Regions from separate parts of the Homo sapiens genome. Here regions 2, 3, 4, 5, 6 and 7 are each linked to region 1. Evidence: promoter capture Hi-C in 16 types of primary human blood cells and fetal thymus (Javierre and others, 2016). All regions are on one chromosome and are shown on one strand. The core of a region is centred on a gene start or on the middle of the fragment in contact, and the rest is flanking DNA. Distances in the headings are between cores, read along the strand shown.

The links. Contacts are between HindIII fragments. The CHiCAGO score rates a contact against its expected background, and 5 or more counts as called.
Region 2: a fragment that was not itself captured here is called in contact with the fragment with the promoter of PLGRKT in region 1 in 1 of 17 cell types (megakaryocytes); the score reaches 6.7 in megakaryocytes.
Region 3: a fragment that was not itself captured here is called in contact with the fragment with the promoter of PLGRKT in region 1 in 1 of 17 cell types (megakaryocytes); the score reaches 6.8 in megakaryocytes.
Region 4: a contact is called between a fragment that was not itself captured here and the fragment with the promoter of PLGRKT in region 1, in 1 of 17 cell types (neutrophils). The highest score is 6.8, in neutrophils.
Region 5: a fragment that was not itself captured here is called in contact with the fragment with the promoter of PLGRKT in region 1 in 1 of 17 cell types (megakaryocytes); the score reaches 5.9 in megakaryocytes.
Region 6: a fragment that was not itself captured here is called in contact with the fragment with the promoter of PLGRKT in region 1 in 1 of 17 cell types (megakaryocytes); the score reaches 7.8 in megakaryocytes.
Region 7: a fragment that was not itself captured here is called in contact with the fragment with the promoter of PLGRKT in region 1 in 5 of 17 cell types (megakaryocytes, erythroblasts, neutrophils and 2 more); the score reaches 10.6 in megakaryocytes.

What each region holds. Positions count from the first base shown.
Region 1 is chr9:5,435,438-5,439,444 of GRCh38, forward strand. It overlaps PLGRKT (plasminogen receptor with a C-terminal lysine), which reads right to left and starts at 2,488. Exons shown (of 6, transcript NM_018465.4): 1 at 2,352-2,488; 2 at 1,132-1,257. RefSeq lists enhancers at 1,790-2,989, 2,045-2,134, 3,695-3,854. The HindIII fragment of the contact is 16,310 bases long and covers 1-4,007 here.
Region 2 is chr9:5,066,988-5,071,148 of GRCh38, forward strand. It overlaps JAK2 (Janus kinase 2), which reads left to right. Exons shown (of 25, transcript NM_004972.4): 11 at 2,035-2,221; 12 at 2,938-3,065. It also overlaps a transcript of INSL6 not described here. Among named protein-coding and RNA genes, the nearest start is that of JAK2, 84 kb to the left of the region's middle. The HindIII fragment of the contact is 3,673 bases long and covers 429-4,101 here.
Region 3 is chr9:5,048,002-5,051,681 of GRCh38, forward strand. It overlaps JAK2 (Janus kinase 2), which reads left to right. Exons shown (of 25, transcript NM_004972.4): 6 at 2,685-2,830. It also overlaps a transcript of INSL6 not described here. Among named protein-coding and RNA genes, the nearest start is that of JAK2, 65 kb to the left of the region's middle. The HindIII fragment of the contact is 2,956 bases long and covers 779-3,680 here.
Region 4 is chr9:4,974,365-4,978,264 of GRCh38, forward strand. No RefSeq gene overlaps it. Among named protein-coding and RNA genes, the nearest start is that of JAK2, 9.0 kb to the right of the region's middle. The HindIII fragment of the contact is 1,237 bases long and covers 2,023-3,259 here.
Region 5 is chr9:5,123,133-5,126,934 of GRCh38, forward strand. JAK2 (Janus kinase 2) reads left to right here. Exons shown (of 25, transcript NM_004972.4): 24 at 3,201-3,314; 25 at 3,552-3,802. The coding sequence ends at 3,659. It also overlaps a transcript of INSL6 not described here. Among named protein-coding and RNA genes, the nearest start is that of INSL6, 61 kb to the right of the region's middle. The HindIII fragment of the contact is 5,045 bases long and covers 1-3,802 here.
Region 6 is chr9:5,083,962-5,087,690 of GRCh38, forward strand. All of the region lies in intron 19 of JAK2 (Janus kinase 2), which reads left to right. It also overlaps a transcript of INSL6 not described here and the pseudogene PDSS1P1. Among named protein-coding and RNA genes, the nearest start is that of INSL6, 100 kb to the right of the region's middle. The HindIII fragment of the contact is 5,863 bases long and covers 1-3,729 here.
Region 7 is chr9:4,992,961-4,996,929 of GRCh38, forward strand. All of the region lies in intron 2 of JAK2 (Janus kinase 2), which reads left to right. It also overlaps a transcript of INSL6 not described here. Among named protein-coding and RNA genes, the nearest start is that of JAK2, 9.7 kb to the left of the region's middle. The HindIII fragment of the contact is 1,326 bases long and covers 1,721-3,046 here.

The DNA.
Region 1 (4,007 bases), core at 1,238-3,737:
ACCCACTGCTAACTGCCTTAGCCATCCTCCTCCAGCTTCACTCTCATTCTCTCCAAGATAGCATGTACTAAAGTTCTCAAAAATGGAAAAACATACAGATACTTGAATGTCCTGGAAAATGTACTTTTTAGATGAATGCACAGTAGTGTCTATCTTATGTAAGTTTTTAAGTGGGCTGTCAACTCTACAAGGGACAGAACTCCAATTTTTATTCTTAATCCAACTGGGTGGGTACAGAAGACCTTGAGTTAGTTGGTTGCATTTCAGAATACTGCAAAACTCAGGGGAAAGTTACAACTGCTCTACCCTTCTCAACAATGTTGCTGATACCTTTTCTCTTTAATAGGCTGTTGAGTAGGGTTGTGAACCTCAGGTAAGAATGGCCAGTCTTAATTCATTACAGCCAGGATTCCCAAGTATTCTGTGGGAAGCCCAGCTAATGGGGTTCCAGGTGAGTGGGAGCTGCAAGCAAGACTTCAGTGACTTCCTTGTATTCTGATCAAGGATACACCTGGAGTTTCAGGGCTCTGTGCCAGAGTCAGCTTCAAAGCTGAGCACAGGATACCAAACCACTTACCAGGATGAAGAGGCACAATGCTGAAAAGGCCTGAGGTGGTGAGATTTCCCTCCCCTTCTGCCACTGTGCCACTCGAGCACCCTGTGACCAGAGTTAGAGGCCACTCACTGACAGCAGGGTGATTTGGCAGTTCTTTCCTTTCTCCAAACCCTAACAGTCCCATGCGACTCATCTCTAACAGCAGACCAGAACCTGCCTGAGGTTAGGAGCGAGATATTATCCATCTTGATAGTCTCCATGGTGTCTACTTCCCCTAAATATTTGCACAAAGCATGAGAGATACAAGAAAAACTGTGGCTCAGGCCACTTGCCATTACTTATTTTTCTTCTGAACATAGGAGTGGATGACTAAATTTTTACACCTGCTGCAAACATTTATAAAGAAAACAACTGTACTCTAGTACTATTCCTCCACATACCCTGTATATCACAGAGCTGTGTGCTTTCAAGTGCTCCTGTTTGTAAGGGGTTAGGATCTCCCCTGAAAAGAGAGAGTCCTCATGTCAATCATCTGGGAAAGAAACACTGTCTGGGAAGTTAGTATTTAGATTTACCTCTTTCTGGGCCTTGCTCTCCTGGGTCTGGACTTGTAGTCTGAATGTGTTAGAGGACGCTCCCAGGTGGAAGGGTTAAAGGTGGAAGCCAAGCAGGAAGAAGAGCTTCCTTATGGGAAACCACACCTGAGAATAAATAAATGCATCACACCTTGTAAATTTCACCCTGGAGTTCAGTATTTTCAACATTCTTTCCTTTCCCAACTTCCCCATTCCTGGCAAAGTCATTTCCCAAAGTCTGGGAATATTCCGTAGGGTGTCCAGAACACTTTCAGCTATCTCCTCTTGCTCACAAAATATGTATCAGAAAATAAGCAAAATTGACCTTGCAATAGGGATAACTTTGATTTCACTCACTTGTATAAGTTAAGTCTTTTAAAAATTCTAACACTTTTCACCAGGGGTAAAAAAAAATGTCTTGCTACTTATACAATTTTAAACATCACTGTGTCTCAGAGTGATGTTTTGCAGAGAATGCTGATTTCAATCCCTCTGTCTTCATTTTCCCTTTGATTCCTTCTGAGATCTTGGAAGGGGTCTTTAATGCTTCAGCCCTGCCTCAGGTGAGCTATAGATTACTATGGGAAGGTGTATTTCTGGGGAGGAGAAGTGGTGCCTGCAAGTTCCAGACAACCTTTCTTCCGGTCACCCGTGAGTACCTAGATTTGATTTTACTTGGGGGGACATAAAAAATTAATTGCATGAATTCTGTCATCGGGATTACCACGCTGACTTATTTCCCGATCAGATGACACATTGCCTGAATGTATGACTGATCGTCTCACCACAGTCATTTTCAATATTTGCATCCCATTGAAATTAAGCCACATCCCCTTGCAAATTCCAGCCCAGAGCCCACAGCTTCCGGAGGTTTTCTGTAATTAACACCGCCCTTGCTCCCTGAGGCCAGTTACTGTAATTTAGGTATTCCCCGCAATAGTGTGCTGATTTCTGTTGAGAGCACTGTGCCTGTTTTTCTCAACTCTATTTTAAAGCTACGGAGAGATCCGGAGTCCACGCCAGGCGACAAGAACGCGCTCTAATGGAACGAAGTTGGCAATACCTATCAGCACCAGGGGCAGTGCGAGAGCCAAGAGCCGGCGCTCACGAGGAGCGGGCGCCCAGCGCTGCCTGGCAAGCCCGGAGCCCAGGAGATCGCGCTGACTGACATGGCCGGGCTGACCCTTCTCCCCACCCGCCTGCGGCCGGTGTTCACTCACTGGGCGGCGCTGGTGCCGGGACCAGGCGACCGGTACGCAAACCTCCAGGCCCGGGCTCCTTTCGCCCGCTGCAGGGACCGGGCCTCGCTCCGCCCAGCGTCGGGATTGGCGCCCAGACACAGTAGATGACGCACCTCAGCCAATTCGCGCAGCCCTCAGCTTCTTTAAAGAGCCGGCACTTCCGCCAGAAGCCGGGTGTGTCCTTCCGGGCCAGGCTCAGTGTTACCAGAGGTGGGAGGGGAAGGTCAAAAGAGGCAAATTCAAAGCCGCGGCGACTCAGCTGCCAGATTTTTGAGATGAGGCAGAGGAAGCGGAGTGGAATTCTCAATTAAAGGCCTCTGTCCCCTCATCTGTTAAATTGGCACTATTAAAAAGTCATAAAGATAAGACAGAAACGAGAAAGAAGAGAATTGACTGAAATTACCCATTCTTTTTTGAACAGAGCCGTCTTTCTCCCCTGCTGCTCAGAGAGATGTCGGTCTCGCCTCAACCTCACCAGCAATTTCTATCTTGAATAAGCCACGTCTCTCTCCCAGCCTGAGAGAATGCTTGAATTGTTGGCACTCTGTTCTTTGCTACCAAATGGCTTGGAAAAATAGCATGAACGTCACCAGTCTCTGGCCTTCAGGAAAGTCCCTGCTAACCACCACAGCGGTGGAGAAGGCGTCTAACTTTCTCCAGGCTCAGCGTGTGAGTGCACACCGCCCTGACCTCCTGGGCGCGTCTTGATGCTCTCAACAGCAGCCCTCAGGATTCTGGACTGTGGGTCCCACATTCCAGATACCATTTGTGGAATGGCTGGATGAGAAAATTGCAACAGCACCCTCATTTCCAGTTAAGGGAATGGGCGGGTTACCAGGAGGTTTGACACTCTTGAAGGGAGGTTAACAACTGATGCAAGAAGTAAGGAATCGTGTTTGAGTGCACAGACTCTAGCATAAACACACCTACCTTCAATTTCTAGCTCTGTCACTGTCACTCTGAATTTATCACCTCTGCAACAGGACTAAAGCCATCTAATTTATTGGATTGTGAGGACTAAAAGATAATATATGTGGGCATTTAGCACAGTGTCGGGCACATAGTTCGCCTTCCGTAACCAGTAGTAACCAGTAACAGCGGGGAGCTGTTAGTAACTATAGGGCTGAGGGGTGGGGGAAGGAAGCAGTTACTAAAACCAGGCGAGAGCGAGAGCGGTAGCTGTGGCTGTACGAGAGAGTAACCAACTGGAACCGTGTCGTTCAGTAGAGGAAAGCAAGCAATGCCAACTTTTCACCAAGTAAGGTGAGATTCTATAGTTGTAGCCAGTGCTGAGACGTCAGCCCAAAGCAGGGACAGAGTGGAGAAGACCCACCTCTCTGTTCTCCCAGCTCTGATATCCAGCTGGGGTCTTCCGCTGGCTGGATCCACCAGGAAGCCAGAAGACAGTGGAGCTAGGTCTGTGTAGTCTGTAGAGGTCAGCCTACTAGGCACAATGCCTGGAGGGAGAAATAGAAAATATCCAGCACACCATTTCTTTTTTTTGTTTGTTTTTACACTTTAAGCTCTAGGGTACATGTGCACAACGTGCAGGTTTGTTACCTATGTATACATGTGCCGTGTTGGTGTGTTGCACCCATTAAGTTGTCATTTACATTAGGTGTATCTCCTAATGCT
Region 2 (4,161 bases), core at 1,015-3,514, 370 kb before region 1:
TAATTTATAATGTCTATCTTTTTATTTTGCATTTATTTTATTTTCTGATGTTTTGGTGTTACCAGTGTGTTAAAAGGTATTTCATCAAGTGTCTTGATGTTTCTTTGTTTGCAAAACTGGAAATCTTTGCCACATCATGTAGAACAAAATAAATCGGAAGCAAATTTTCTGTTTATTAACAGTGGTTGCAGAATTAGAGGAAACAGAATTAGAGAAAACTAGGTCAATAACAAACAAATAGAAACATTAAAGCACTTTTAACTGATGATTTTCTAATATTTTTAAGAATAGTGGTCTACAATGCATGTTTCAACGGTAAAACTGCAATGAAACCCCACTGTTAATACAGATCATTTTGGATCTCATCTATGATTATATACTATCACTTATGAGGCAATTTCATGGTATAAATCCTAAGAAACTATAGAAGCTTGCAAATTTATCTTGCTTTTTTAAAACAGAGAAAAATAAGAACTTTGTTATTCAATTATTTTAATTTTTATAAAATGCAACTTATATTTGGCATATGTAGAGGGTAGATTACTTACAGAAGGGAGGTTATGCCATCACTTTACCTTTGTGTAAAACTGGTAATCTATCCTAATTTCAAAGTATCCTGTTACTATAACAGATAATAGTACATTATATTCAAGTATGAATTCAAAAAAATATATATATATATTTTATGTTCACTGTATGTGCCAAGCCTAATATGAGAGCTATGTATTATAGAGTTTATGCTACAGCCCTACCTTCAGGAAACTTATCTACTGGACAAACAAAAATTTTCAAATATACAAAAAATTCTAAATCGAACATTGTAATTATCTAGCATAGGCAAATATAGACAGTAACAGACAGGTTTACAATTATTAAGAAAGGGCAGCCAGGTGTGGTGGCTCACACCTGTAATACCAGCACTTTAGGAGGCCAAGGCGGGTGGATCACGAGGTCAAGAGATTGAGACCATCCTGGCCAATGTGGTGAAATGGTGAAACCCTGTCTCTACCAAAATTACAAAAATTAGCTGGGCATGGTGGTGCGCACCTGTAGTCCCAGCTACTCGGGAGGCTGAGGTAGGAGAAGCGCTTGAACCCGGGAGGTGGAGGTTGCAGTGAGTCAAGATTGTGCCACTGCACTCCAGCCTGGCGACAGAGCGAGACACGGTCTCAAAAAAAAACAACAACAAAAAAAAAAAAAAACAAGAAAGGTTATTTGGCATAGGAAGAACCTGATTGACCTTGAGGTATTGGTAGATTTTATATAAATGTTTCTGAGTAGAATGAATATGTTTATAAAATGCACCTTAAAAATAGGTGAACAAGTTCATAATATAGTGCATAAGACAAATATTTAAAAACTGCAAAATATTAAAAATGTAATATTAAAGATAATTATACAAATACAATGGTGGTGCAGTGGAATGGCTGTATGTTCACCTTTGCTTGTGCAAAGAGGTGAGCATTAGAGAGGACCTCTTAGAAACAGTGGTACTTGAACTGAGTTTTGATGAATGAATAAAGGTTCATTGCTCAGAAGAAGTGGGTATACATTCTTAGGTAGAAAGATAGCATGAAGAATTATCAAGGCATGAAGCAGCATGGCATTTGCTTGAAATGATTTAAGTCATTTAATATGGCTGGAACGTAGGTTGTATGTTGGCAGTGGCAGGAGCTGAGATTGGAGATGGAGGCAGAAACCAGCTCATGGAAGGCTCTATATGCTACATTTGTTTTAGGCTTTATCTTATAAATGATGGAAAACTATTAAGGATGGTATTGTTGCTATTAATTATCATTGCCTTCTTACATGCTTTTTCATAAAATCAACTTTTAAACCACTTTTGTAGGCTGAGAAATTGTAAATTGCCCTTTTGAGGAACTAAGTACTTCTATCACTATACTGGCACTACATCGGATTCATGGTTCAAATGTTTATTCTGTTGCTTGTTCTTGTGATATCATTTTGTCAGAATAATCACTGTGATGTCCATTGTGACTATCCCTCCCTTTCTTTATAATTAAACTTATACAGCGAGAAAATGTCATTGAATATAAACACTGTTTGATTACAAAAAATGAGAATGAAGAGTACAACCTCAGTGGGACAAAGAAGAACTTCAGCAGTCTTAAAGATCTTTTGAATTGTTACCAGATGGAAACTGTTCGCTCAGACAATATAATTTTCCAGTTTACTAAATGCTGTCCCCCAAAGCCAAAAGGTAAGATAATTTTCTAGTTATTTTTAAATTACTGGTCATGGATTGTTTATGTGGCGTGAAGTATCTTCAGTACATTGATTTCAAAGGATATATGAAAGAAGCAGCTCTAAAAGTTAATTTTATCTTATTCTATTGTACAAGCATCATCAAATAAGATTGTTTACTTTGGTTTTGGTGGTCTAGAAGTGACTTGAAGTTCAATTATTCTAAAATGAGATTTTAAACATAATGTGTGGTATGATGTCATTTATTGAACTGGAAGATCTCACTACTAAATTCTTATGTTGTTTTAAGTAAAAATTTTCATATACTTCGAGGATTTTAATTTCTGTATTTTAAAAATAAAGACAGTAAAGTTGGAAATTCCTTGAAATAATGAGCCTTACTATTAAAAATTATTAAAATTCCTGAAAAATTGTATGAGTTAAGGAAGTTACTATAATTTTGAATTAATGAAATAACTGGCAGGAATACATCAAAATCCAAATTACATTAGTTAAGGAAGTGATTATAATTTTGAATGTATGAAGTAACTAAGAAGAAATATCAAAGTTCAATGAGTTGACCCCTAAAATAATTTTCTATTATAAAAAAAGAACAATTAGGAGTTATTAAGCATTTCTTATACGTAGAACACATTTCATTTTACTCCTCTTTGGAGCAATTCATACTTTCAGTGTATTTTGAAGTGATATATATGTATTTTATTTTTTCAGATAAATCAAACCTTCTAGTCTTCAGAACGAATGGTGTTTCTGATGTACCAACCTCACCAACATTACAGAGGCCTACTCATATGAACCAAATGGTGTTTCACAAAATCAGAAATGAAGATTTGATATTTGTAAGTCATTAGATACTCATTACTGTCTTTTTTGTCCTTTTAAAACAACATCTGTTTTCTTGATTTACATTCATGTGACATTGGAATTATTTTGTTATATACAAATTTAGTTGTGATTTAAATATTTTTCTTATGAAAAATATGCCAACCTTGTGTTAGATGTTAGCAAAATTAATTATCTTAATTATCCTAAGAATGGAATCTTAATTTTCTTTTTGGAAATTTAAAAATGATTCTTCACAAATCTCAAATTAAAAATTAAAAATCTACAAAGACCTATATCGCAACTCCCAAGTTCTCAAGAAAGTAAGGGAAATTCAAGGGGTTAAAAATAAAGAAGAAACTGAGAAAAAAATCCAGCCATCTCTCAGTGTCCATGAGGGATTGGTTCCAGGACTACCCATGGATACCAAAATCTGAGGATACTTAAGTGGAACCTGTGGATATGAAAAGTTGGCCCTCTATATACATGGGTTTTGCATCCTATGAACACTGTATTTCTTTTTTTAAATAACTAATTATTTTTTAAAATTATTTATTTATTTATTAGAGCAGGACTTGCTGTGTCACCCAGGCTGGAATGCAGAAATACTATATTTTCCAACTGAGTTTCCTTGCAGATGCAGAACCCGCCCTGCCAGTACAGAGGGCCCACTGGATTTATTGAAAAAAACCCACATATAAATGGACCTGTGCAGTCCAAACCCATGCTGTTCAAGGGTCAACTGTAGTACATAAGATCTGATAATCTGGCAGTCAGGTGGTGAGGGTTGATGATCAGCCACATTTATCAAGGGGGTTAAGATTTAAGAGCAATTTAAAAGGGCCAGGTCTCAGACCTGTGCAAGGCCACGAGTTAAAAGTGAGACTATCCCTGAGTAAAACCAGGACACTTAAGTAAATACATCCTCAGTAAAACAATATATAGAATGTGAAAAATTCACCCACTAGCAAGCAGAGAAGAAAAGGAATATTGTCATTTTTAACTGCGCTTCTGGTGAGGAAAAGGAGTCTCTCCTAAGAATTTGTCATCATAAGCTTTGGAATTTGGGCTTCATTATACTACCTACATAGACTGAGAAATCCTAAATTAAAA
Region 3 (3,680 bases), core at 1,007-3,506, 390 kb before region 1:
ATTTGTAACTTTTCTCTAGTGAATAGTTTATTATGTTTTTAGTATTGCCATCACTCATTTTTCATATATTTATTGTCTTCTGATCATGACTTCCATAGAATTTCCACATGAGCAGAATTTGTTATCTACCAGTTCTTTTCTTTTCTTTCTTTTTTTTTGAGATGGAGTCTCCCACTGTTGCCTGGGCTGGAGTGCAATGGCGTGATCTCGGCTCACTGCAACCTCTGCCTCCCAGGTTCAAGTGATTCTCCTGACTCAGCCTCCCTAGTAGCTGGGATTACAGGTGCCTGCCACTACGCCCGGCTAATTTTTTGTATTTTTAGTAGAGATGGGGTTTCACTATGTTGGCCAGGCTGGTCTCGAACTCCTGACCTTGTCATCTGCCTGCCTTGGCCTTCTAAAGTGCTGGGATTACAGGTGTGAGCCACTGCACCCAGCCCATCTACTAGTTCTATAGGGAACCAAGGCAGGCTATTAAAAAGAATCTACCAAGTCATTGATCATCTTCTACTTAAACAGTATAACTTACTTGCCTGTTCTCAAAAGTGTGGTGAAATAAGTGTTTAAAATTGAGCAAAAATCTGTCTCCTACCCTGAATTAATTTTGTATTAGCAACGTTTAGGCCTTTGTTTTGGGTGATACTGATTATTTGATGGTGTGGTTCTTAATAGTTTATTTTCTTATATGAAAATATCTTCTATATTTTATTAATAGAAAAGCAAATATACTTTTAAATATGTTTCTTTTAATAAAATTAGTTTAAAAAGGTTCCAGTAAAGCTTTAATTTCATGAGACAAGTTATTACATCAAGAGAAGAGAAATACAGATGTAGAGTATAGAGGGCCCTTGTCCGGTTTAAAACCTTGATTCGCATTGTTATTTTAGGTAATATGGCTCTTACCTTTTTTTCTACAAAGAAAATTGGTATTATGTTTAGAATATTTGTACTTCTGCTTTCTTTTTCTTTCTCCCATTACATGTTCAGTCAGATTTATCTGTATTCCTAAATCCTCCAGGTCAAAATCGTAGAACCTCTGTGTTTCTCTCTTCTTCATTCTTTAGACAATATATAGTTAATAAAGTTATCAGCCTTTTTTCAGAATCTTTTAGTATCTTCTGTTTCCTGGATCAGATCCTTATTATTTCGTATCTGAGCCATACACCAGCCTCTTAAAGAGCCTCCGTAAATACACTTTATTTTCTTCAAGCACTTCTATCATTGCTACTACTCTGCCAATGGAAGAGACATGATGAAAACAGATCTCCATAGTTTCTAGGATCAGGTCATTCAAGGGTACCTGCAGTCGGACCCCAACTTACTTTTCTAAGTTTTAATCCACATTATTTCTTCACATAAACTTCAGGCCCTAATCAAATTAGTTTATGCATCTGAACATATCTGGTGCTTTTGTGTGTGTGTCATTCCTTCTATTTCTTTACCCTGTTTTGTGTCCATCATACATTTCTTTATTTTTAAACACACTGTGAAGTTTCAAATCTTCCATGAAACCCTCCTTGATTACTCCAGCTGAATATAATCTTAACTTTCTCCAAGTTCCTGAAGGAGCTTTTGTGTGGTGCTTCCTATATCATGTCTGGTGTTATAATTATTTGCTTCTGTTTCGCTTCTAAGCTAAATTTTGGTCCCCTTGATGACTGAGACCACATCTTATACAGTCATGTGTCACTTACTTATGGGGATATATTCTGAGAAATATGTCGTTAGGCAATTTTATTGTTCTGTGAATATCATGTATTGTACTTATACAAACCTATATGTTATAGCCTAGTATATGCCTAGTCTGTATGGTATAGCCTATTATTGCTCTAGGCTACAAACTTATATAGCATGTTGCTGTACTGAATATTGTAGGCACTTGTAACACAACGGTAAGTATTTGTGTAGTTAAACATATCTAAACATAAAAAAGATACAGTAAAAATGCAGTATTACAATCTTATGGAACCATCGTTATATATGTGGTCTGCCATTGACCAAAACATTGTTATGGGGCACATGGCTATTTCTTTGTATCCAACACCACTTGTAGTATGATACTTCCAACATAATTGGAGTTCAGTATATATTTAACTCAGTAATATCTACTTTAATTTAGGTAATTTTTATGTAGAAGATATAATTTGAAGATATATTTAATGAAATAGGTTGATGTTATATGTACTCTGTAATTGGGAACCCAGTGTAAATCAGTTTCCATTTGCAAATGAACTTTTATTAAAATTGTATCGCAAAATGAATGAAAATTAAAGGAGGAATTTATGCCATTTATTTATTTATTAATCATTTTAGAGACTGGGTCTTGGTCTGTTACCCAGACTAGGGTGCAGTGGTGTGATCATAGCTGAAGAGATCCTCCTACCTCAGCCCCCCAAGTAGCTGGGACTGCAGGTATGTGCCACCATGCCTGGATAATTTTTAAATTTTTTGTGGAGATGAGATCTTGCCATGTTGCCCAGGCTGGTCTCAAACTCCTGGGCTCAAGTGATCTTCATGCCTTGGCCTCCCAAAGTTCTGGGATTACAGGCATGAGCCACTGAGCCTGGCCAATTTGTATCTTGTAAATGCATATGTTCTGAAAATTATGATTAAAATATAATCATAGATTAAAACATGATAATGAAACTTACGATGAGATATTTCCTTCAAATTTTTGGTTTTAGTGGCGGCATGATTTTGTGCACGGATGGATAAAAGTACCTGTGACTCATGAAACACAGGAAGAATGTCTTGGGATGGCAGTGTTAGATATGATGAGAATAGCCAAAGAAAACGATCAAACCCCACTGGCCATCTATAACTCTATCAGGTAATTTTCTTTTGCAAATCCTTACACATAAGTGTGAGTAGAGATTTTATATAATTCGTATATATTTTCTGTGTTTACCCATGCCTTTTGATTTTGTAATACTAGTTAAGTACTCCTTATCTAAAATGCTTGGAATCAGAAATGCTTCAGATTTTGGATATTTCCAGATTTTGGAATATTGGCATTGAACTTACCAGTTGAGCACCCCTAATCCAAAATGCTCTAATGAGCATTTCCTTTGAACATCATGTTGACGTTCAAAAAGTTCTGGATTTTGGAACATTTCGTATTTCAGATATTTGCAAGAGGGATAGTCAACCTATAATAAAAAATCATATGGGTAAGTTTTATATCTTGGGAGTAAAACACACTTTGTAAGGTGAAATTATTTAAAGAGTTGTACTACAGGAAATATCATAGGTATTAAATATCTATTATTTGATTTCATTTATTCTGAGAAGGCTAGGGAAGTTCAGAGGAACAGAAGAAACACCTGGAGGCATACTTTTTGATAGAAGATCCTCCAGTTGGCTATATAAATGACCTGAATAAGTATTTCCCAAATGGTGGTGTATATTTTATTTGCATTAGACTCACGTGGGGGAGCCTGTTAAAATCAAAGATTTCTGGGTCCTAATCCAAGAGATTTGGATTCAGTAAATCTGAGTTGAAGCCCACAAATATGAATTTTTACAGATGCTCTAGGGTATTCTTATACAAATGGTCCAAACTCTGCATTCTTCAAATTATTCTTCTGCATATTGAACTTGACAATCATGGCTAATATAAAACTGCTTTTTAAAAAGGTATATATAAGAATGGTTTAAGTTTGAAGGCAAATATGTATTTT
Region 4 (3,900 bases), core at 1,391-3,890, 460 kb before region 1:
ATATATGGGATTCAGTACTATCCAAGGTTTCAGGTATCCACTGTGGTTCTTGGAATATATGCCCTGTGGATAAGGTGGGGACTACTGTACCTTGAAAGTTCTTAAGGAGAAGAAGCACAATCAAGAAATTTACAGCCAGGCACGGTGGCTCACGCCTGTAATCCCAGCACTTTGGGAGGCTGAGGTGGGCGGATCACGAGGTCAGGAGATCGAGACCATCCTGGCTAACATGGTGAAACCCCGTCTCTACTAAAAAATAGAAAAAATTAGTGGGGCATGGTGGCAGATGCCTGTAGTCCCAGCTACTCGGGAGGCTGAGGCAGGAGAATGGCGTGAACCCAGGAGGCGATGCTTGCAGTGAGCCGAGATTGCGCCACTGCACTCCAGTCTGGGCAACAGAGCAAGACTCCATCTCAAAAAAAAAAAAAAAAAAGAAAAGAAATTTACATGTAGCTAAACTTAAGTAGAAAGGAAACAGGAAAACATTTCTGAACATGCACCAATTAGAGATTAGTTCTCCTGAACTCTTCTTGAATAAACTAATAAAAGATGAACTGAGAGATGAACAGAGAAACTATAGCAAAATGACTTGTGAATGTTGAATGTCTTATATTGTAGGACTAAGAATAAAATAAATGTGGAGATTATAGCTACAGAACAGAATGCCAGTTTTTAGAAATGATGTAAGTTACAAAAGTAGTCTCAATATTATTCTGTTTATTTATTTATATTTTTTTGAGGCAGAGTCTTACTCTGTTGCCCAGGCTGGAGTGCGGTGACACATGATCTCTGCTCACTGCAATCTCCACCTCCTGGGTTCACAGAATTCTCCTGCCTCAGCCTCCCAAGTAGCTGGGACTACAAGCACGCACCACACCTGACTAATTTTTTGTATTTTAGTAGAGACAGGGTTTCACCATGTTGGCCAGGCTGGTCTCTAACTCCTGGCCTCAAGTGATCCGCCCACCTTGGCCTCCCAAAGTGCTAGGATTACAGGTGTGAGCCACCATGCCTGGCACTATTCATTTTTCAAACTCAAATGACATCTACTTTAAGAGAACATACTTTGTGGGGAGACAGATCTAGATTCAAATAGCAACTTTAATACTAGAAGTTATGTCAGTTTGGGTTTGAAATGAAATTCAGGCAATTTCTGTACTTTATTTTCTGTAAAATAGAGATAATAATACTTACCTAATAGGGTATAAAACCAAATAATAAAAATTTCAGTCATTTCAATATTTATTGTACCAGGCACTGTCCTACGTATTAGGTATATATGGTAATGAATAAAATAGACCTGGAACTCACCTCTCCTTGAAAGAAACAGACAAATAAATAAATGAAATATATTGTATGTGAAGTGGTAATAAGTGCAATGGAAATAAACTAATTAAGTGTTTGGTGTAGGTTGAGGATGGAGAGGCATTGAAATTTCAATTGTAATTGCATCTCACCTAAGGAGGTGATGAAGTGAGCCACGGGGATGTGAGAACGTGGGAGAGGGGCCAGGGAGAGTCACTGTTCTGATTCCTGGCTGCAGCTGTGATTACTGCCATATCTCTTGTAATTATGCATGTCGGCTTCCCTGAAACACCAACTCTGGCCTTCTACAACTTCAGACCAAGGTCTCCCAGTCGAGTGCCTTCCTGTTTGCATTCTATAACTGAGCCACAAACAGCCCTGTCTTGAGCTCTTATTTTCTTATAAAGTTTCTGGATATATCTGTATTTTATTTGGTATGCTCTTAATTATAGCCCTCTCTCCCCATTCCTCTTCTCGCTGCTGGAAGGTGGTGGATGGCTAGGCTGGAAGGCTATCCTGAGCAATACCGTCTTATGTTGGTATTTATTATTTGGTTTTATACCCTATTAGGTAAGTATTATTATCTCTATTTTACAGAAAATAAAGTACAGAAATAGCCTGAATTTCATTTCAAACCCAAACTGACATAACCTCTGGTATTAAATACCAATTATCAGTCATCACACCTCCTAATACCCAGTCATTTTATCCAGGCTAAGCTTCTGCACCTCAAGTTCTTCCCTTAAGGTGAATTTTTTCTATAGCGAGACCTCTGCCCAGGGAGTTAAGTGCTAACCTGTTTCCTGATAGCTTAGGGGTATTATTAATACGGAGGATTTGGCCACTGATCCTCATTTTGTCCTGCTATTGTTCTTATTCATTAATTCATTTATACAATGGCACTTATTTAACATATACTATGTGTCAAACTTGCATTGATACTGGATATACAATAGGGAATAAAACAAATATAGTTCTGCCCTCATGGTCTACAAGGGTTTCTTTGGATTCTTATAGAATACACTCTTCCTCTGCCTACCCTACCAGGTAACAAATAGGTATATTTCTTGGGCTGCCTCATCTCTGCACACTCCATAACTTGTTGTACATGTATTTATATCTGATGATTGTATCTAATCAATTATCTCTATGATTTGTAAGGTCTTTCAGCAGCAACATTTGTGATTTTAGAATTTGATTGATTTGTAATAAGTGTACTCAGTGCTATTTGACTTAAATTTGTTGCACTGCAACTTAGTGTAGCCCTGATAAAACTGGGGCTCCCATGTGGTCTGGCATATACAGTAAATGCCTTAAAAACACAAGCGTTATAATCAAGAATACTTGAAGAAAAAATTTAAGGTTTTATATAAAGGGAATGAAAGTAGGTCCACTTTATAAGTTAAAGCAAAATGTTTTAAAATTCTCTATTGCCATCCACTTCTTATTCCCATCTACATACTGAAGCAACTTGAAAGAAAGATCTCTTCTTTTTGTTCATTCTTCAAGTCAAGGTACTGCATCTGTGCCTCACTTATATTTTATTCCCTAACCCCTCCCCACCATATCACCTGTTATGAAAGGCAACCTAAGTTCTTTGGCTTATTTATTTTCTTTTACTTTACCCATTACAAGGATTCTCTACAACAGTGGTTCTTGAACTTTAGTGTGCCTCAGAATTGTCTGGAAGGCCTGTTAAAACACAAATGGCTGGACCCTACTTCCAGAGTTTCTGATACAGAAAGTCTGGGTTGGGGCTCAAAAATGTACATTTCTAACGTGTTCCCAGGTAATGCTGATGCTGCCTGTCCATGGACCACATTTTGAGAGCCACTCCTCTACAGTATAGCATCTGGGAGCCATTCCAGCAAATAAGAAATCTATCCATGGATAGAAGCCTTTGCTATATATTATACATAAATATTGTTACCTGATTGCCTATATATTAATATGAAGCTTATGAATTTAATGAATCATCTTCCATCACCACGTTTAAAATTCTGTGGGTTGGGGTGTATACTTGGGATAGGCTCAGCTATAAGCAAGAAGAGTAAAGGAAATAATATTTATTACTTGCTTGTCTATTCAGGAGATAGTAGAGTGTGATTGTTAGAGGAGTTAGCTGTGCAGCCAGGCCCTTTGGGGTTCAGTCTTAGCCCAGCAGGATTTCTGAGAGACACTTGAAAGACATTTAACCTTTTGTTCCTCACTTTCTTTTGAGATGAGGATAATGCAAGTAACCACCTCATAGCCTTGTGGTGAGGCTCAAATGATTTGATACATATAAAACTCTTGAAGATGCCTGATATGTTGTATGAACTGTGATGTTACCTATTATTGTTATCAGGAATTTGTTGAGTGTTTTCTACATGTTATCTCATTATAACCTCAAATCAATCCTAAATGCAAGTGCCCCTATTATTCTCATTGTAGAGACTAGAAAACAGAAGTTTAGAAAAATTGAGTAACAGATTAAAATCTCCCAGCTAGTAACAATCTCTGGTCTTTGTATTTTTCCAGCATTTTCCCAAAGGAATCATTTCCTCCTGTAAGAAAAATGGTTCAGGAAATCTGTACGATTCAAAAGCATATTTG
Region 5 (3,802 bases), core at 592-3,091, 310 kb before region 1:
TTTTATTTACTTTCAGTTTTTTGTTTGTTCGTTTGATTTTTATAAATTTATGGGGTACAAGTACAATTTTGCTACATGCATACATTGCATAGTGGTGAAGTCAGAGCTTTTAGGGTATCCACCACCTTAATAACATACATTGTATCCCTTAAATAATTTCTCAGCATCTACTCCACCAATGGCTCACCCTTCCAAGTCTCTATTGTCTATCATTCCACATTCTACGTTCATGTGTATACATTATATAGCTCCCGCTTATAAGTGAAAACGTGGTATTTGTCTTTCTATGGCTGATTTGTTTCACTTAAGATAATTACCTCCATCCATGTTGCTACAAAAGACATAATTTCATTCGTTGTTATGGCTGAATAGTATTCCATTTTGTATGTATACCACATTTTCTTTATCCAGTCATCCACTGATGGACACTTAGGTTGATTCCATGTCTTTGCTTTTGTGAAGAATGCTGCAATAAACATACAGGTGGAGGTATCTTTTTGATACAGTGATTTCTTGTCCTTTAGGTAGATACCCCATAGTGGGAATGCTGGATCGAATGGTAGTTCTATATTTAGGTCTCTGAGAAATCTTTATAATGTTTTCCATAGAGGTTGTACAAATGCACATTCTCACCAACAGTGTATAAGAGTTCCCTTTTCTCCACACCCTTGCCAACATCTGTTATTTTTTCTCTCTCTCATTTTTTTTTCCATTCTGACTGGAGTCAGACATATCTCACTGGGGTAATTTTTTCTCTTTTTTTTTTTTGTCATTCTGACTGGAATAAGGCATATCTCATTGTGATTTTAATTTGCATTTCTCTGGTGATTAGTGATTAGCATTTTTTCATATGCCTCTTGTCAGTTTGGGTGTCTTCTTTTGAAAATGTCTATTGATCTCCTTTGTCCACTTTTTAACACGATTATTAGGGGGTTTTGGTTGAATTGCTTGAGTTCCTTATAAATTCTGGATGGTAGTTCCTTGTCAGATACAAAGTTTGCAAATATTTTCTCCGATTATGCAGGTTTTCTGTTCATTCTGTTGATTATTGATTTTGCTATGCTGAAATTTTTTAGCTTAATAAAGTCTCATTTGTCTATTTTTGGTTTTGTTGCCTATGCTTTTGAGGTCTTTGCCATGAATTCTTTGTTTACACTCATTTCCATTAAAGTTTTCTCTAGGTTTTTTTTCTAGTATTTTTCTAGTTTCAGATCTTACATTTAAGTCTGTAATCGATCGAGTTAATTTTTCTATATGGTGATAAATATGGGTCCAGTTTCATTCTTCTGCATATGGCAATCCAATTTACCAGCACCATTTATTGAAAAGGGTGTCCTTTCCCATACTGCGCAAAGCAATCTGCAGATTCAATGCAGTTCCTATCAAAATACCAATGTCATTTGTTCACAGAATTAGAAAAAACAATCCTAAAATTCATAGGGAACCAAAAAGAGCCCTAATAGCAAAAGCGATTCTAAGCAAAAAGAACAAAGCTGGAAGCATCACATTACTTGACCTCAAATTATATTATAAGGCTACAGTAACCAAAGCAGCATGGTACTCATATAAAAAACAAACACATAGATCAATGGAACAGAATAGAAAACCCAGAAATAAAGCCACAAATTTATAGCCAACTGATCTTTGACAAAATCAACAAGAACATACATTCAAGTTTTTTTTTAACATGAGAAAGGATTTATCCAAAGAATAGTAAGCCTAGGACTCACTTTAGAGCTTTTATTGCTTATTTTTAAGGCAATATCAAACAAAATAATCCCAAACCTATTCCTAAACTAGCTTGAATTTTTAAAAAGGGGATATTGGGAAGCTAGTTAGTACAGTCTCTTAATATTACTTTTATTAAATCCAGTAAGCTAATTCATTCTAGGAATTATTGCATAAGTTAAAATAAACCTTCCAAAGTAATTTTTCTCTTGGTCATCATAGAATTTTTTTTAATATGGAAAAGTATGAAAAAATAAAAATCATCTCTAATGCAATTACTCAGAGAAGACCACCTCAATATTGTGGTATGTTACCTTTCAGGCTTCATTTTGTGTATAAAAGTATATACAAAGAAGTATATAAAACTTTTATAACTTTTATAAAAGTTCACTTATATAAATATATATTATTTTATAAAATTAAGGTCATACTGTGCAGTTTGCTCTCCTTCTGTTTCATGAAGTATTACAGCATGGGTAATTTACTGTATTAGAAAAATGTACTGCAAATATGTTTTCTAATTGCTGAGTAGCATTCCATCATAAGGCTATATATGTCTGAACAATCATTTTCCATTCTTCAGTCTTTTAAGTAACACTTCAGTGAACATAGTGAACATCCTCATGCATAAATATTTATATTTATCTCTGATAATTATCTTAGAATAAAAGTATAAGTAAAAGTTATGAACTATTTTAAAATTTTTTTAATTTCAAAATGCTTTCTAGAAAAGCTGTGCCAAATTATATCTCAACAGCAATGCATAGGGATGTACATTTCATCATTTGCCACTATTGGTTATTATATTTTTATGTACTTTTGCCAAGTTGATAGGGGAGAAGTTATATATATTTTAATTTCCATTTCTTTTCTTAATGTGGTTGACTATATATTTGTTGGGTGTTTAGGGTGGGTATGTATATATGTGAATTATCTCTTCTGTGCTTTGCCTATCTTTATATTTGTAATTTTTTTTCCCAATTTATAAGAGCTGTCTATATTGAAAATAAGTAAATGATGTTTAAGTATTTTCCTAGCTTATAATTCAGATTTTAATTTTATAAACTTTGACATATGAAAGTTTTCTTTGTTGTATTTATGCTTATTCATTCATTTTTTCTTATATTCTCTTTTATATTCAACTTTTTATTTCAATTGAAATGTAATATGATAAAAATATGAGTTTTTTAACAACAAAAAACTCAAAGGAAATATGTTTTTAGTTCATGTGTTTTGAGCCCTCCTCAGGGGATTTGTGTTGAGTTTATTACAGCTATGGAAATGGAAATTATAGAAGTTCCATATTTAACAGCCTTATGTTTTTGATCCTAAAAGTAGTTTGTTTTGAAAAGGTTTGAAAACATACAAAAGCACACATATACTAAATTTTTTCCCATTGACTGGAGGAAATTGAGAAAGAATTTTGCTACAAATTAAATGTACAAAAAATATTGAAAGTGGGTTTGTTTTAGGAATTTATGCGTATGATTGGCAATGACAAACAAGGACAGATGATCGTGTTCCATTTGATAGAACTTTTGAAGAATAATGGAAGATTACCAAGACCAGATGGATGCCCAGATGAGGTAACAATTTTTTTTTAATCCAGGGTAGTCATGCATTTTCTTTTACTTTTTACTCAAGGACTTCAGTTCACTTCCTGAAATTTAATGTGCGGAGCTTCCAGATAAACAGCATAATCAGATGACTGTGGAACAAGGCATGGTTATGACATGTGCCCTGTATTGAAAATTAATGTCTTCCACCAATTAAAAGATGGCCCTTAGTGTTCATTTAATTTTGGTTTATTTTCTCCTTTACAGATCTATATGATCATGACAGAATGCTGGAACAATAATGTAAATCAACGCCCCTCCTTTAGGGATCTAGCTCTTCGAGTGGATCAAATAAGGGATAACATGGCTGGATGAAAGAAATGACCTTCATTCTGAGACCAAAGTAGATTTACAGAACAAAGTTTTATATTTCACATTGCTGTGGACTATTATTACATATATCATTATTATATAAATCATGATGCTAGCCAGCAAAGATGTGAAAATATCTGCTCAAA
Region 6 (3,729 bases), core at 1,096-3,595, 350 kb before region 1:
TTATTAATATTCTTTTGAGACATAATTTTAAGTGAATATACCATAATTTATTTACAACATTCCCCTTTATTGTAATTTTGAGTTAATGTTCTTTTGCTTTTTAACATTTTTAGTGTTTTCCATAGTTCCGTGAGCTTAAAATTCTTTTAAACATAAGTAAATTGAAGAGACTCTAAGGAAGGCGTTTTCAAAATACATGTACAATGAAATATATTTCTTAGTAATTTAGTTTGTAGGAAATGAAAGGTAAATGGTGTAATCATTAGTCAGTCATAGATATTTTAATGTGGATATTTCCTATCTGTATTTAACACCATAATTTTACTTTCATCTTTGTTTGTTTGAAGTAATTGATGTGTTCAGTGGTTTGTCTAGATATTTGTACTGCCTTACTGAAACAATCAAAATGCCATTCCTACAAAAATGATTGCATGTCACCTTTCCATTTTATAAAAATTAGCTACTGTATCCCTTTGTTATCCTTTTCAATTAGTGGTATGGTGAAAATATTCCAAAGAGGGATATATATTTAAAATTATTTTCATATGTTTTAAGCCAAGAGAAATAATGGTATATTTTTTTATTTTTTAAAAAATATTTTCATACTGTTGTAAAAGGAGCCAAGAAACTATTGTGAAATCTTTTCTTTTGCTATTTGAAATCTAGAGTGTTTTTTGCTTTCTTCCTTTATCCTCATGCCCACATATACTTATATTCTTTTTTAAATTAATTTTAACATGGATTATTTGTGTAATAGCCTTACATGTGGATATTAACAGTGTAAACAGTACCACATATAACCATCAAGACACCTCAATTAGAATTTATAGGACTAGAATGACAGATTCAGATGGTTTAATTACATTTAAAAAGTTTTCTGAAAAAACTTTTGCAATAAAACAAATTGCCCATCAATAAGTTTGATATCTTTTAAAATGATTTTTGGTTATCTGCACATGAAGCAAACAAAGTGTATTCCACAAAATTCTTAGGCACAGTCTGAGATAGCTGCCAGAAAGAACAGAAAGAGTTGTCATTTATGTCTTGTGAGTACAATTTCTGAAAGTTGAATGAGGGCGTCTCTTTCTGGGGATGAGAAGTTTACTGCTCTCTCTTATTGCTTCATGGCAGTACTGCTGGGCAAGGTAGGTTGTTTGTTTTACACCATCACTCTGTAATACATACTGTGGAGCTCTGTCTACATCTCCCGGCAAACTGAACCATCTCATGATCATAGCATTCATTTCTGGGAACTGCTGACAGGCAAATAGGACAGGACCAGTGGCTAACCTGAGATTCACATCAGCTGATGTTGGTTTGCCTATGTTAGAACATGAGGTGAAGTCGAATACATCATCTATTAGCTGAAAAGCTATTCCTACATTTTTTCCGTACTGATAGGTGATCTCATGCACCACTGGGTCGGGGCATCCTAGAACAGAGACTGCTTTACAACTGTTGGCTATCAGGCTCGCAGTATTCTTGAAGGTCTTTTCAAGGTATTGTGCAAATCTCTCATGCTCATTTTCTTTTGACCCGAGCTGAAGAAATTCACCACACACCAAATCTTCAATAACTCGGGTTAAAATAGATATAACAGCTGTATTTCCAGTTTGTGCCCCACCTATAGATACTACAGAAAGAATTAAATCTCCAGCAAGGACAGCCTTCTTTTCACCCCAGATCTTGTGTGTTTTCCTTTTCGAGAACGTGCATTATCAATAACGTCATCGTGAACAAGACTAGCAGTGTGGATCATTTCTGCAATTAAGGCTGTGGCGCGCTGGCTAGCTTGCACATGTCGGGAGTTATTATGATGAATATTACATGCTCGGGCCATTAGTACCACAATAATTGATCGAAAGGCTTTTCCTTTTACATCAAAGTAGTACTCAGAGATTTCCTTAAGTTCTGTTGTTGATATGAGCGGTTCCTTTCTAATACCCTCATACAGACCTTTCAAGTCTCTCCAACCGAGTTTGAAAGGATCGGTGTATTTCTCACCACTGTGTGTTTTGCTGTACGGGGTTGTGTGATGAAACTGTGATATACTATATACATTTGGACAGGCAGGTGTTAAATGCTTCACAAGATTAAAATAGGGTATCTGAGACAAGTCAAGTCCCTTCTGCCTATGAGCCTGCGCGGGCATCGGCAGCGGCGCGCGGCCCCGGCGGCCCCGCAAGGCTCGGGGAGCGGTCTCCACGCCGCCGGTCTCCAGCAACAGCCGCGCCGCCCCCGCCACCAGCGCGAGGCCACGGTCGGAGTCTGAAAGTCGCGGTAGGATGGTGGCTCCGCCTCTGGCCCGCGATCCTCCTGCCAGGACCTGGAGCCTGAAACCTCTTATATTCTTTATATCCTTTACCTTCTCGCTTCACTCCTAGCGGTTTTGAAATCCTCTTTATTCCTTTTTCCTCCATGGTGCAGATATGGGATTCAGAGATCAGGATCTTAGTGCGACTACTTTGAAATTATCAGCATCATTCTCAATCTTCTCTGAATATGATTCTTATTTTCCTCTCTTCCCATCATTAGCTAACATCTTGGTCCACATTCCTTGAATACTTTTAGTACTCATTGTTTTCTCATCACCTTACCTCCTGCCATTATTTTGGATGCCCTTCCAATACTTAAAAAAAAAATTCCTTGGCTTCTCTACCCCAAAGTTATGATTATGTTAAATGAGTTCCTTTGAACTCTATAATCCCATGTAATAACCTTACTTAGAAAATTTCCTACCCTGAAATCTCCCTGTCTGACTATAACTTTATAGCCTTTGGCTTTTTTCAACATAAATGCCTTCTTTTTGATATCTTTGGTATTGCTAGTGTCTTTCACACTTTCTTCTTATTGGAACGTAAATTGGTGACCCTTTCTAGAGAGCTTCTCATAGAGCAGTTTGTATCAAGCGCGTTTAAATGTTCATATCTTTTAAACTACTTTCGCTGGTATCCACAATTATATCACCCCCCCTTCCCTTGATTATCTGCTTCACTTTCCCTATTATTTCCTAGTACGGGAACAATACAACTTAGCATTTTTAAATTGTGCTTCCATCCCTCAAACACTAAAAGAAAAAAATCAGATATAAATCTTTATTGTTTTCATTGAAAATTGGTTTCCAACATTGGTTAGGCACTTATGACTCTTACTGGTTGTATTAGTCTGTTCTCACGCTGCAAATAAAGACATACCCGAGACTGGGTAATTTATAAAGGAAAGAGGTTTAATTGACTGACAGTTACCCATGGCTGGGGAGGCCTCAGGAAACTTACAGTCATGGCAGAAGGCACCTCTTCACAGGGCAGCAGGAGAGAGAATGAGTGCCAGCAGGAGAAATGCCAGATGCTTACAAAACCATCAGATCTCATGAGAACTATCACGAGAACAGCATGGAGGAAACCACCCGCATGATTCAGTTGCCTCCCACCAGGTCCTTCCAATGACATGTGGGGATTATGGGGTTTACAATTCAAGATGAGATTTGGGTGAGGACAATGCCAAACCATATCACTCCCTTACTTGATTTCTTTCCTGGTCCTATCTCAAACCCTTCTGGTTTTCTATCTTAAATCTTTCTTTTCGCTGTATTTTTCTTCATCTCCTTCTTCCATAAGAAAAATAGAGGCATTCCGAATTAAAAGTGAGACTGATTTTTGCCTATCAAAGTGACAAGGATTTAGAAAAAGTATAATGATCATTGTTGGCAGGGATGTGATAAAATATACA
Region 7 (3,969 bases), core at 1,134-3,633, 440 kb before region 1:
CACCCCTGCACCCAACCCATATAAATTGCTTTGTATTTGTAAGAGTAGCTTTCTGAGCTTGCTTCCTGCCTGTAGTGCTCCAGAGTCCAAAGGCCCCCTTTTATATAGCAACTGTCCCTTTCATTCCAAGCTAATACAACTCCTTTAAAAACTTTGTGGACTTCCTGTGTGTAAGTTTATAATCTGTACTGCCATACCCACAAATCTCTTTTGAGAGGAACTCTTTCCTCCCCTAAGCTCTGTGTGAGTCTGCTGTGGGACAACACCCTTAAGATCCTTAGATAATATTTCGTCTGAAAGGATCTATGAGGTACTGATTTAGATCTTAAGAAAGGATCTTATAATCACACTCTAGATTGGATCTTTGCTCTGAGGCCCTTTTTATTTGACACTTTGCTGGCTGAAAAGATTGTTCTGAGTCCATTACATCTCCTTGAAATTCTACTCAAAAAATGAATAGCTTATTCTTTAGTTCATCTCTCTGTTCTCTCAATTATAAGGGCAGCTAGAAGAAGCCAAATTGCTTTAACTTCCTGCTGAGAATCTCCTTAATTCATTAGGTCAGGTATGTATTTTATTTTCCATGTTAATGTAGGTGACAGTTTTGCTAAACTTTGCCCTAGTATGTAACAAGGGTGTCCTCTTATTCAGCTTTCACTATCATTTCTCTCACTTTGCTTGAAGTCCTCACTGACAGTCTCCTTGAGGGCTCTTAGGCTCCCATGAAGTTTCCTCAAGACCCTTTACATGTGTGAACACAAAGGGTCCTTATCTGTTCCTGGCTATATAGCAGGTCCTTGAATAACTGTCATTTCTTCATAACGTTGATAAGAAAAAAATGGATTCCTGGCTGGGGCCACTGTTTGTGTGGAGTTTGGACATTCTCCCCACGTCTGTGTGGGTTTTTCCGGGTGCTCCAATTTCCTCCCACATTCCAAAGATGCATATGTTAGTGGATCGGTGTGTCTAAATGGTCTCAGACTGAGTGATCATGTATGGATGAGTGTGCCTTGCAGTGGGTGATGTCCTGTCTAGGGTTGGTTCCCACCTTGTGCCTTGAGTTGCTAGGATAGGCTCTAGCCACTCGTGACTGAACTGAATTGGGTTAATAATTATCCTACTTGTTTTTATTAGTCTTTCTTAAATGTGTGTATAGCTCACATTTATTTCAGTGTTTAATAATCAGAGTGTTTGGAATCTTTACTTAGAAGTTTGATGATGTTTTTGTGGCCATAAATATGCCATAGGAACTTCCTTATCTCAATTAGCCTATGGAAAAATGGATTTTGTTACACATTGTTTCACTTAAAGTCACAGTTTCCAAGAACCTATTGAAGACAGTGAGGATTAACTGTACTAGAACTGTTTCCTAACCCACTGGTTCTTATCAGAATTACCTAAAGGACTTATTGAAACACAAATTGCCGCTGGGCCCCACCCCCAGAGTTTGTTTCATTAGCTCTGGAGTGGGACTTGAGGATTTGCATCTGTGAGTTCCCAGGTGATCTGATAATGTTGATCTGGGGCCTAGATTGTGAGAATTACTGATTTAAACCAGGGATTGGCAAGATTTTTCTATTAAGGATCATAAATAAAATATTTTAGACTTTGTGGGCAAGATTGTTTCTCTTGCACCTACTCAATTCCGCCTTTGTGGTGCAAAAGCAGTTATAGACAATACGTAAATGAACAGACGTGGCTCATGGCTGTGTTCTCATAAAGCTTTATTTACATAACAGGCAGCTGGCTAAATTTGGTATGTGTGAACTGTGCTCTGCCAATTCCCAATTTAAATCATTACTTGACTCCACATCTCTTCAAGCTATGGCCCCATTTTTCACTCCCCTTTGGAACAAAACTCTCTGAGAGTTGTCTGTATTTGTCTCTTTTTATTCTTTCATAAAAAAATTATCTATTTTTTGAACACATTTAAATGTCTTAGAATTCAAAAAGTAGTAAATATCTTTGTACATTTGTCAGGGCGTGTGTGTGTGTGTGACTATAACTAAAGATTAAGTAGAAGAGGAGTTGCTGATTCAAAAGTGGTATATGTTACTAAGTTCAACAAATATTGCCAAATTGACATAGAAATACCAAGTTATGCTTTTCTACACCTTTACTAACATTGTGTTTTCAGATGACTTGATTGTTGCCAACTTGAGACGTGAAAAATAGAATCTCATTATAATTTTAATTTGCTTTTTATTCTCCTTTTTTAGGGAACTCTTCACTCATATCTTGGCCCACTTTCTATTGGATTTGTGGTCCTTTTACTTTGCTTTGTGGGAGCTCTTATACTAAGGAAGATAGCTTTGAGTTTGCGAAATGAGTTGTTTTCCCTAGGTTGTCTCTTTATCTTTTTGATTCTGTAGATAGTGTGATTTTGTTGTTGTGCATCTAGGTAGGTTCCTTCTAACCCTGAAATTATATTTTGAGATTCTCCCTTGTTTTCTTGTTCCATCTGGAATTTATACTGATGCAAGATATAAGATGGGACGCAACTTTTTTCCCCTAGATGGTTGTCCAGTTTCAATACTATTTGTCAGATAATCCTTCTTTTCTCTGCTGCTGTGAAATGCTGGTGTTTTAAATTGTGTATGTAGTTGGATCTATTTCTGGACTTTGTTTCATTCTAAAAATGGCTCCTCTGAAACCATATTGTGAGTTCTTGGGTAGTGAACATTTCTATTTATTTGTTTCCAAGTCCTGTATAATATTTATTAGCATATGGGAGGCATTCAAGTACTTGAAAATAAAATGAATAAATCAAGCATTTAGGAATAGAAGCAGATCTTTTTGCCAATTATTCATTTTAGTTATTCTATTTAATTCTCTATTTCTGATTTTAAACTTGAATTTAACCTTGGTTTTCCATTTTAGTTTTACCTTTTTTTTAAACTTTATTGTGAAGTATTAAGTTATTTTTTGTACTTACTGAATGGGCATTTGCTAACTTATGTGTCTGCTCTTATTAGTCTATTTTTGGCCTCAAATTGTTAAAAATTCACAGTATAGTTTTATTTGTATCAAATTTGCTACTGAGGGAAGCTTGTCATTTCATAATGGCAATCCATAGGATAGGTCAAGTCATTTGAGATTGGAACCATTAAGGATAAGTTCATTTAACATTGAATTATTAGATCTGTGGTTAATTGGCCAGGTTAGAGAAGACAGAATTACAGGGAAGTCTGGATTTTACAACTTATTATTTTAGAGGGTCAAATTTAGAATAATATTTTTAAGCTTTTTAAGTAGAAGTATATGGATCACCTGAGGTCAGGAGTTCACCACCAGCCTGACTAACATGGTGAAACCCTGTCTCTACTAAATACAAAAAAATAGCCAGGTGTGGTGGTGCATGCCTGTAATCTGAGCTACTTGGGAGGCTGAGACAGGAGAATCGCTTGTACCTGGGAGGCAGAGGTTGCAGTGAGCTGAGATCGTGCCATTGCACTCTAGCCTGGGCAACAAGAGTGAAACTCTGTCTCAAAAAATAAATAAATAAATAAATAAAAATAAATACATAAATAGAAGTATACTATTCTGATTCTCTTATTTATATGTATAATTTATTTTTTTAAATACATGAGGTATTGTAGATTTTTTGGTTTTTTTGAGGAGGGGCGGGGGTGATGTGAAATATAGTTTTCATTGCATCAGATCTTCAGTTGTAATGATATTGCTGGAATCCACCATTTAGGACCCTGTCTTGTTAAAAAAAAATTATCCTTGCCTTCACCCCTACCCCTCCCTGCCACAGACTTTTAAAGGTAAGTATTCTGCGATAATTGGATTATATTTACTATTATGAAAATTTAAAATTATTAGAAGTAAAATGAAATATACCTCCATTGTAGTAAGTTTGATTCACAGTGCCTCTGGTTATGGTGGTCAGTAAAAGTAACACTGTATTAGGAACAGTCTTCATGGTGGGAGTTCTCTCCTTTTACTCTTCTGTTAGTTTGTTCT